Linked DNA regions of Homo sapiens: regions 1 and 3 are each linked to region 2. The links are contacts of gene promoters, found by promoter capture Hi-C in blood cells and fetal thymus (Javierre and others, 2016). All regions are on one chromosome and are shown on one strand. The core of a region is centred on a gene start or on the middle of the fragment in contact, and the rest is flanking DNA. Distances in the headings are between cores, read along the strand shown. Region 1 has its middle 240 kb from the start of SORL1-AS1. Region 2 holds the start of BLID (BH3-like motif containing, cell death inducer). Region 3 has its middle 300 kb from the start of SORL1-AS1.

Evidence for each region. Contacts are between HindIII fragments. The CHiCAGO score rates a contact against its expected background, and 5 or more counts as called.
Region 1: a fragment that was not itself captured here is called in contact with the fragment with the promoter of BLID in region 2 in 3 of 17 cell types (M0 macrophages, monocytes and M2 macrophages); the score reaches 7.0 in M0 macrophages.
Region 3: a fragment that was not itself captured here is called in contact with the fragment with the promoter of BLID in region 2 in 2 of 17 cell types (M1 macrophages and monocytes); the score reaches 5.8 in M1 macrophages.

The regions. Positions count from the first base shown.
Region 1 is chr11:121,694,083-121,697,954 of GRCh38, forward strand. No RefSeq gene overlaps it. Among named protein-coding and RNA genes, the nearest start is that of SORL1-AS1, 240 kb to the left of the region's middle. The HindIII fragment of the contact is 1,678 bases long and covers 568-2,245 here.
Region 2 is chr11:122,114,506-122,118,148 of GRCh38, forward strand. It overlaps BLID (BH3-like motif containing, cell death inducer), which reads right to left and starts at 1,710. Exons shown (of 1, transcript NM_001001786.3): 1 at 835-1,710. The coding sequence starts at 1,417. The coding sequence ends at 1,091. The region is part of intron 4 of MIR100HG (mir-100-let-7a-2-mir-125b-1 cluster host gene); the gene reads right to left. The HindIII fragment of the contact is 7,623 bases long and covers 602-3,643 here.
Region 3 is chr11:121,753,058-121,756,467 of GRCh38, forward strand. No RefSeq gene overlaps it. Among named protein-coding and RNA genes, the nearest start is that of SORL1-AS1, 300 kb to the left of the region's middle. The HindIII fragment of the contact is 484 bases long and covers 1,763-2,246 here.

The DNA.
Region 1 (3,872 bases), core at 157-2,656, 420 kb before region 2:
TTTTTTTTTTTTGCTAATTTTTGTATTTTTAGTAGAGATGGGGTTTCACCATGTTGGCCAGGCTGGTCTTGAACTCCTGACCTCAGATGATCCACCCACCTCAGCCTCCCAAAGTGCTGGGATTACAGGCGTGAGCCACCGTGCCCGGCCAATATTATCATTAACTATAGTCATCCTCCTATAGCATGCTAGAACTTTCATTGTGTTTCTGAAATATCACTAATTCCAAGACGTCCCATCCCATCTAACTGTAACTGACCCATCAGGGTAGTTTTGGCATCTCCGGTGTCAGTGTAGATGATTGGAAATGTTAGTGTAACATGAATGAGGAGAGGTATGAAAACCCAGAGAAAGCAAGTATTTTGTGAGAAAGAGTCTGCTATCTTTGTAGCTCCCATAGTTCAAAATTCTTTCACCCCCAAAGTGCAGAAGTTAGTATTTTTCAATGTTTATAAGTAGCTGTGACAGTTCAGCTTCTGAACTCCAGTCCTAGCTTTGCTCTGGGACCACTACTGCTGGCTCTGGCTAAGAAAGAGACTCAGTGTCCCAGGTGCTGTGAGCCCTGAAAGCTTGTTCTCAGGGACATGGCCCTGTCGGGGGCCAGCCCCCATTTTCTTTTATCAGTGCCTAGGGGCTTTCGGTGTTTGCTAGAGATTTGGGCTGCTCCCAGCTATGGAGGATACTGGAAGGTGCCACATGCTACTGTCCAATATTCTATTTTTCTAATACTAGGCTTCTGTATTTTCCCAGTGCCCTGATGTTGTGTTTTCAATGTGGGGATGGAGCCTGTATTGATAAAGAGATCTTACTACCCCCATTCAAAGTACCAGAGAATTTGGATATCTCTCACAAGTTTTTATTTTTATTTTTCCAGCCTTTCGAAGGGCTGGAGAGCTGATCCAGTTACCACTCTTACATTTTTCCAGTTATCAGCTCAGAGAGGGCTCATGAAAGAGAGGGAGGGCAGGTAGGGAAAGTGAGAAAAATAACAAGCATTGCCTTCCACATCTAAAATGTTTTAGCTTTGCTTCCCTGCCGGGCTGAGGCTGGGAAGGACAAGCTCGATTAGCTCTAATAAAATCCTCTTCCTACAAGTCTTGATTCTCGGTAACTTTTCTTGGGTGGAGGGGACATGATAGATTCTCTTTAGATTTAAAGCCTCTTGCCCTGTGGGCATCCAATACCAAGACCCTTTCTTTCCCATGCACAGCCCCCTTATCTAGCCTGCTTGAGAAAAATACTTTATTCTTTTTTTTTTTTTGAGATGGAGCCTCGCTCTGTTATCCAGGCTGGAATGCAGTGGTGCGATCTCGGCTAACTGCAACCTCTGCCTCCTGGGTTCAAGGAGTTCTCCTGCCTCAGCCTCCCGAGTAGCTGGGATTACAGGTGCCCGCCACTGCGCATAGCTAATTTTTGTATTTTTAGTAGAGACGGGGTTTCACCGTGTTGACAAGGCTGGTCTTGAACTCCTGATCTCAGGTGATCCACCCGCCTCAGCCTCCTAAAGTGCTGGGATTCCAGGCGTGAGCCACCATGCCTGGCTGAAAAAAATACTTTATTCTTTTTTTTTTTTTTTTTTTTTTTTTTGAGACAGAGTCTCGCTCTGTCACCCAAAGCAGTGGAGAGCAGTGGCATGATCTTGGCTCTGCAAGCTCCGCCTCCCAGGTTCATGCCATTCTTCTGCCTCAGCCTCCCTAGTAGCTGGGACTACAGGCACCTGTTACCATGCCTGGATAATTTTTTTGTATTTTTAGTAGAGACGGTTTCACCGTGTTAGCCAGGATGGTCTCGATCTCCTGACCTTGTGATCTGCCCGCTTCAGCCTCCTAAAGTGCTGGGATTACAGGTGTGAGCCACTGCACCCAGCCAATACTTTACTCTTGACTCTCCATAGCTCTAGTCCCTCCTGCCCAAGCATTGGTGCAGATTATCTGAGGTGATTTGGTTTTGACCTCCCAATGCCTTGTTTCCCTGGGCATCCAGCCCACCTGGGCCTAAGCCCATAAGGTCTTCATAAAATATCCAGGTGGTCTGGCCTGCTGGATATTCCATAAATGGCCCTTAAATAAAGATGGTACCATTGGCTAAAATAATGTACCACGTCAGGGCAGGGAAATTGTGTAAGTGCCAAAAACTTCCCGGCCCACAGGGCGACTACAGCTCTCATCCCTTCTGGAACATACCACCAGCCTAGGGATGGGCTGTGACGAATATTTGGCCTCAGGCAACGCTGGAGCCCAGGGAAAGCTTTAGTTGCATGTGTGTTTTCTCACAGAATTATAAAGCCCAGCAGCTCTCGGTGCCAGAGGCTGCGGAGAGTTTCTGTGTTTTTCGACTATTCATTAGTGATTACATACCCCCCTGAACACCTGCAAGACCAATTCATAAAGCAAGCATTCATGGACTTTGGCAACAGCTTCATGGGAACTGCAGGGTACGGGGTACGGTCATTGTATCTCCAGATAAAAAACATTCTCTTACCAAGGAGGCCTCTGAAAATAGCAGGCTGCAATTTCAGTTCGACACCACGGGGTATTAAAAAGAAAAGTGTTACTTCACCTCGTCTCTTTATAAAGTCAGCACACTGTGAGGCTGTGGCATTCCTCGACAAATCCTCTTTCAGGACCCTTTCGGGAATGAGAAGAGGGGAGTGGTGGGCACTGCATTGATTGTGACGGGGCCAGCCCGGCCGTGGGTACGTGTGGCATGCTCTCCAGCGAGTGACACTGATTTACAGCAGGATAACAGGAAGTGTGGAGCTTGGGTGGCCTGCTGTGTAATTCTGGGTGACAGATTGCCCCTGCCACTTACAAAAACGGTGCTATAATTAATCCAAACAGGCCAACAATAATAAACAACGAAAAAATAATATCTTTATACAAAATATGGGATTGACCTTTAGTATGATTCTTTTTCACCTTAATTTTTTTTTCTTTTGCGTGCTCTCTGTTAAATAACAGAATGGCAGGGGCTGGAAGAGTATGGCTCGGAAAGACAATGCCGGAACATCGTGGCAGCTAAGTCTGAGCTGAATGCGCAGAATGAGAGGTTTACTCAGAAGTCCTGCGAGGACCATTGCACAGACTAGGGAAGCTGAGTCTTGTCTGGGCATCTGAAAACAAATGTATTTTGTCTGTAGAGGCAACATGAAGTTTAATTTGATTCTATCAGATGAGATTGGCCTGCCTAGAGAATTGAGCAGTTTTTCTTGAGTGTGTGTGTGTGTGTGTGTGTGTGTGTGTGTATGGGGGGGCTCCAACTCTCCCTCTCCCCTCTGCTCTGCCAGTATAGACAGCCTCCAGTGCTCAATTAGCCTCCTGAAGTGCTTCATTCTCTGATAACAGCTTAGACACTAGGAGAAACGGTGTTCACAGTGTGTTTCATCCTCACACGTATAAACACACATAGTCACAAACTCATTTAGGTTAGAAAGGACTTTTAATGGGACATCTGGCTCTCTTCCACTGCTTCTTGTCGAGGCAAAGTAGGTTCCCTTGTTAATATGTATACTCTAGCAATCACACCATGGCTAGGGTCTGTGGCTATATAGAATTATGTTTTGTCTTTTGTTATTGATTCAACTAGTGCAAGGGGGCAAAAGTCAAACCTAAGAAATCATAGTCAGAATTTCCATTTACATGGAAGGAGTGGGGAAGCTTAAATGCTGGGCAAAAAAGGGAAGATGTGGCCAAAAACTCAGTGAAGAGAGGATGATGGTGACAGTGATGACATGATGTATAAATGTAGTAAAAATCTCACTCTTTTTTAGTTGGGGGAGGCAGTAGAGTATAGTGGCTAAGATTATGGATTGTGGAGCTAGATTTCTCGGGTTCAGATCACAGCTTTGCTACTTACTAGCTGTGCGAACTTGG
Region 2 (3,643 bases), core at 460-2,959:
TGTCAGTTTTTTCTACCTCAAAAGATCCCAGGCATGATTAAGTTTTTGCCTTTTCTTTCTCTTTCTCTTTTCTTTCTTCTACAGAAAATTCTTTACTTTAACAGCTTCAGGATCACTGATGCAATTTAGGAGTTTCTCCGATGCAATTGAGAAATGCAAAAGGGAGGTTCTATAGGCAGGGTCTTTTCTGCCTGGAGCTTTTAAGATCACTGAGGAAAAATAACTCAGATTCTCACTCTTTCTCTCCTCCCAGCTTCTGAGCTGCCCTGCGGGCTCAGTTCTCACTGTGGGTAGGTATGGGTCAGGGTAGTGGAAAGAAAGCAGAGAAGGGGACACTAGAATAGCTTAAAGTAAAAGCTCTGAAACACCTTTTCCATTTCCTTTTCCTTTTTTCCCCACAGATTTAGTTCTACTCACTCTAATAACAGAGTTCATAAAAGATTACTGGAATTTCTATTTCTTTCAGTTCCACAGGTTTTTTTTTTTGTAAAGGGAAAGAAAGGTTAGACTTATTTACAACACAATGACAATCTCTGATTCTTCACTTTAAGCAAATAAAGACGCCTAGTGAAATAAATGGATTGTGTTATTTAAAATTGAAAGCTTATGTGAACCACCACTCAGAAACATGCTTAAAAAATACAGAAAGAAAATGAAAACCCTGTGACTACACAAGATTATTCTGATGCCAAATGCTGAGTGTACAACTAAGTAGAGTAATTGTTAATAATATGACAAGTACCTACTTCCAATGTACAAATGAAATACACTCAAAACTGCAAAGGACAGTGGCACTGTACGCTGCCCTAAGGTTTACCATCACATAGCTTTTTGTTTTTTCATGAATTTGCAAGATTTGTTTTAATTAAATGCCATTTACTTTTAACTAGCCAGTTTATCCTTTTTAAAAATTTTATTGTTTCTCTGCACAATTTGAACCAAATTTGGAAAAGTTATGGGTAAAAGTGGGTAGAAAAGACTGTTAAGAATTGGGTCTTATTGAAATCAAGTTTCCTTCTGTGTTGTGCAGCCTGAATAATGGGCGAAATCTGTCCTAATATCTTGCTGCATCTGTCCTAACTCACTCCTTTTACAGGGCCTCAGCAGAGGAATTGCATAACAATGTAACTTGTATCCTGGTTAAATAGGAAGGTCTCTGAAGCACATGTCCAGGAACATTCCGCTTCATGGCAGAGGAGCCAAGATTGTACCTTTTAAGAGAAAGCACTGTTTCCTTAGGCAACATAGGTTCTTTGTTGGAACCCAAGAGCGCCTCCAGTGGCAGGCGTGCTTTTGCCTCTGGATAAATGGAACTGCCAGAGGCTCGCTCTATCCATCCTGTGTAGAGCACACACTCAGATTCTAGGATCTCAAAGAAATGTATTTCCTGGCCCTCTATAGGCAACAAAGTCACCATAATTTGAAGCTATTATGGAAGAAAGTCCAAAATTTAACTTCCATTCGCTTTATTCAGCAAGTTTTTATAAGGCAGATCTCATATGGACTATGCTTTGCATAAGCACGGTGTTAGATGGGAAGAAAAAAGTGGTGGGATCCTTCCTCCTCTTCCTTTCTTCCCAGCTCCTGCTATTCATGGAATTTCCCTTGATTTCAAGTGGCTACTCACCAAAATCCTCAACTGAAAACAGCTTCCAAGGGGTCATGTACTTATTCAATTCTCTTCTCTCTTTTCTCCAAACACAACATCATCTGACCAAGGTTTGCATGCATAAGCATTGCTAATTAACGATAAGTCTCCACGATGTCCTCCTCTCAGTAAGTTTGACACACAGACCTCAGCGAAGCTGTATGTACTGCCTAAAAGTAGGAAAGATCTCCACGTTGATTTCTGAATTGTAAAAGGCAGGGATATGTTTTGGACTTCTTGTCCCTTACTGTGAACAGACCTAAGAGTACTTACTTTATTTTTTAGAAAGAACCCGGAGCTGCTGATGTCTGAGGGAGTCGTTTCAACAGAGACTAGAATATCGAGAGAGAAAATTGATCCAGCTCTCTTGTCTGGTGCTTATAAAACATGAAAGTATCACCCTCGCCATGGCAGACCACAGGGAATGATCAGTGTGAATTGTTAAGTCCTCTTCTCAGTGATGCTTGCAAGCAATTTCCCTGGGGAAGCAACAAGTTCCTGACCACAGTGTTGTACACAAATAAATAAACAAAATGCTATTACTTTTTGTTCTTCACATTGGGAAAAGTTCAGAAACATCTTGTTTCAATTGATGGGCTGGAATTACAGAAACATTTTAATTTTGTCTTTCCTTGCTAGTTCTGTGCCTGAGATGTATTGGTAAAATGGAACATGAGTCATATTTCTAATTGGGAAAAGCCTGGTAATCATGGGCAACCCAGATCTGGGTGACTTACAGAGTATTTTTGTGTTGAGAGAGAAAAGACACTAAAAGTAGAAGTTTCTTACTTAGCAGCAGCAGAGAGGCTATAAGATTGAATCTGGTGTTTCACATGGCCTGTATCATGGTATAATGAGAAGGAATGTGTCTTGCACAAATTAGCCTATAGACCTTTCTAATCAGGACCAATATGTGACATATACAAAGGCAAGATCAGCTGTAAGGAAGGATTCACTCCTTTACCACCAAGCCATGGAGACTGCTTGAGTCATCATGGCCTTGGTCTCTTGATTTCCCTTATGTTATTTGAGTAGAAACTCAGGCACCAATGATGCCCCCAGTTAACCATAACCATAATGGTAGCATCCAATACCATTTTTAAAAAAGTCAGGGTTGTAGACAAAAGACTGATGTAGACCAGTGGAGAAGACAAGAGGGAGTTATGCAGCCTACTCTGAGAGCAAAGTCTGGTTTGGATCTTCTCTGCTACTTTTGTACATTTCATGCTAGAGGCAGAACAAGTATCCAGGGAACACTTTGGAACTTTCCTAAATTTACAGAGGGGCCTGTAACATTCAATTAGGGGGAACACAGAATGTTCTACTCTAGCAAAATTTATAGGTAGTATAAGAAATTCCATCAAGTGTCTTGTGGAAAACTGAATGCATAAAAGTAAGGATGTGGATAATGGGATCATTCAATATAGATTTCAAACCAAAGTCCGCTGCTTAATAACTCTGAACTTGGGCAGAGTACTTAACCTTACTGAACATCAGATTCTTTATTTGTAAAATGGGGACCATAATATCTTCTTTGCTCAATTATTTGGGGGATTAATGAGGGAAGGAATATAAATTATCACAAGATCTGGTATATAGTAAGAACTTTGCAATGTTTTTTTCCTCTCTTTATTGATGAATGCTTTCCAGATTTCTATTTGGCCTCTTCTCTTTGAGTTTATAGAATACTAATTTTCTGTACTTTGTGGCAAATCTATTCAATTTAACAGTTTTTAAAATTTATTATAATGTGAGACATGGAATATGAAGAATAAATAATGCATACCATTTTTATAAAAGAGACTCATAATCTACTGAGAAAGCTAGAAACATGCTGGGTCACTATACATTAGACAAGGTTAAGTGGAATAATTTGGTTATTTAAACATTTGGGAGAAGGGGTGATCTAATTATATACCAGGCACCATACAAGGTGGCAAAGACCCAAAGATGTATAAGATGCAATTATTGAACTCCAGGGCCCTTAATTTTTTT
Region 3 (3,410 bases), core at 755-3,254, 360 kb before region 2:
TGTCCAACAAAGATAGACTGGATTAAGAAAATGTGGCACATATACACCATGGAATACTATGTAGCCATAAAAAATGATGAGTTCATGTCCTTTGTAGGGACATGGATGAAATTGGAAATCATCATTCTCAGTAAACTATCACAAGAACAAAAAACCAAACACCGCATATTCTCACTCATAGGTGGGAATCGAACAATGAGAACACATGGACACAGGAAGGGGAACATCACACTCTGGGGACTGTTGTGGCGTGGGGGGAGGGGGGAGGGATAGCTTTAGGAGATATACCTAATGCTAAATGATGAGTTAATGGGTGCAGCACACCAGCATGGCACATGTATACATATGTAACTAACCTGCACATTGTGCACATGTACCCTAAAACTTAAAGTATAATAATAATAAAAAAAAGAAAATTACCCATTAAAAAAAAAAGATGGCTAAACTTAACAATTTTTTGACTTTAAGATGGTGTGAAAGTGATATATATTCAGTAGAAACTGCACTACGAGTGCACATGCAACCATTCTGTTTCTCACTTTCAGTGTAGTATTCAATAAATTACATGAGATATTCAACACCTTGTTATAAAATAGGCTTTGTGTTACATGTTTTTGCCCGACCATAGGCTAATGTAAGCGTTCTGAGCATGTTTAAGGTAGGCTGGGCTAAGCTATGATGTTTGGTAGGTTAGGAGTATTAAATGCATTTTTAACTTGATATTTTCAACTTGTGATGAGTTTATCAGGATGTAACCCTGTTATAAGTCTAGGAGCATATGTACAGGAAATAGGATTGGGCAGAAACAGAAGTTGGGCTATTACATAGTCACAGCAAAACCTCAGCCTCCAACACCACAGAAAGCCTTGAAGCTGGGGTAGTCCTACAGTGTATCTTGAGTTGGGGCTGGGGAGTTGGCCTTTAGACCCTCTTATTTGCCACTATTGTATGTGTGCTGCCTTTGGTGGGAAGATTTTGGGCGAGATGGGCAGCTTAGGGCAATCTATGAAGGGGATCCAGCTTCCAACACTCACAGCAGCTAGGCAAATGATGCTTCAGTCCTCATAGGGGGGATCTGTGTGACCCACCACAGCATGCACTATAGCCTCTCTGAACAGGCGGTATTTGAGCTGAGACCTGGATGATGTCATCTCGCTTAATCCTGGGGTTGATATTGTCATATCCCCATTTTGTACCCCTGTTCATCTCTCAGAAGCTCAGAGAGGTGAAGTGACTTGCCCTAGGTCACACAGCTACCAGGAAGCAACACTTTGTGTCTCCTAGCCCAGAGCTTCATCTATGATGATCTGCCTATATCTTGTTTCATTTATGCTTGTACTTGTGAAAACACCAAGGGCACATATTTCTATAAACACTTTTATAAAACACTTGGGTATATTACCAGTAGAATATAGGATAAGCCTCTCTGATTTTTCTGATTTCACTGATTTCTCTGACAGGGCAAAGGCCATATGGCCATGTTTGCATCTTTGTTCAGATAAGTGATTAGATATCTCTGTACAAAATAGAGCTTTAGAATGGAAAAAGTTTTCAAATAATAGGCTGACAACTTAGTTAAAAGAAAAACAAGTGAAACAAATATCACTAGATGTTATTTGTTCCAAAAGTCAAAAGGCTAACCACAGCCATGCCAAACATCTGCAAATATTTTCAGCTTTTTAATCCCTAATCTTTCTCTGATTTGAGGTATGAGTGGAGAGTACTACTGGTACTCTCGTGATTCTTACAGTCACTTGATCAAAGCTTGTTTCTTGCCTGGCTTCCAACCTTTGACCCATTTGGCCTGTCTCCTGTCTAGGAGGGGCTTTGGGCTTTGGTAGGATAATGTTTTACATCTCATGATCCTGTGTAATTTGTAAACTGCTTTTACATAAGTTATTTCATTCGATTGTTGCAAAAACACTGGGAAGCATGGATCTGTATTTCCTTTTCATTGATAAGGGAACCAAAGCCCTGAGAAGTCACATGACTCAGGTACATCCCTTGAACTCAAGACTTTCAGTTATAAGACCATATATTCTTTCCATTACCTCTCCACTGATAGAGCTCTGAGCTAGAATTCTTGGAAGTGAGAGCAAGGAATGCATGAGAATAAAAAAGACATAGGAGTGAGAAAGAGTGGGCAGATTATTATTGAGGCAGGTCACAAAACTTCGTTAGGCCTGGGTTTCCTCATTGAAGTGACAACTGGACAAGGTAGCTGTCTAGGACTCTCCTTAGCTTTAAGCTTCTCTAGTCTTAAGGAAACAGCAAAGAAAAAAAAAAGAAAAAGACAAATCAAAACAATGAGACAGCTGCAACAACAACAAAGAACAGCTATGCTATCCCAGGTCTCTAGCCATCACAACTATAGCATGACTCTTTCCTTTGAATTTTCACTAGCAGCTGGAATGCCTCCATTTTGAACACTCCACTGCTCAGGTAGCTGCTGATTTCCTGGCTACTAATACCACTGTTTCACACATAATGGCGAACAGACTGAAGAGATCAAATTAAATCCATTTCCACTTTAGGATGGGAAATCTGTTTGGAACAATCAAGCAGGTTTGGGGCAGCAAGCATGGGTTTTCAATTGCCATCAAATGGGAAATTGCTTCATGTCAATTGGCATTAAGTGGACCGATTTGTGCCCAATTAATATACCGTGGTTGGAAAGAAAGAAAACAATTTCATTTAGCTAGATTGCTCTTCTCTGGGTTCTTCCTGCGTGGATCTCCAAGCAGTCTGCAGACATTCCCTCTTATTCAACCAATCCCCTCCCCCATTGTGAGCCACATCCTCCCTTGTTGAGAATGACAAGTTGGGAGCAGCTCACTTTAGCTTTTTTCATGCCTCAGAATCCCATTTAGTGAATGGCTACTGCAGGGTCCCAAATGAAACACATTAGTGGCGTACAAGAGTTAATACAGCTTTCAGTAGCATTTTATCCCCAACTAGAGCTCAGCTCTGGCCTTGGATAAAGCTAGCTTACTCCTAGCCATTAGACTGAAATATTGGGCCAAGACACTCCCAGAATTTTCCTGGAAGATGCCTGCTGGAGAATCCAAGGGATCAAAATAGTGCTGGGATGACAAGTCAGATGTGTGAAGACCTCAGTGACTCTGTAAAATCTGGAAGCCCCCCTGACAATGACAAACAACCACCGAGGAAACACAGGTCACCCAATCACTGCCAGCTGAAGCGCTGGCACAGAAACCCAGCTAAATCCATGCTCCAGAGACTCCCCAAATGAAAGAACACTGTGTGAGCCCATGCTGGCCAATGGGAGCTGGATGAGGAAAGATAGTAGCCTCGTTTTCACATCCATAGATTTTATGCTCCCTTTGGTTGGTAATTTACATTTATATAGACTCTTTCAAACTCTGGGTTCTAAAATGGCTTTGCTGGTT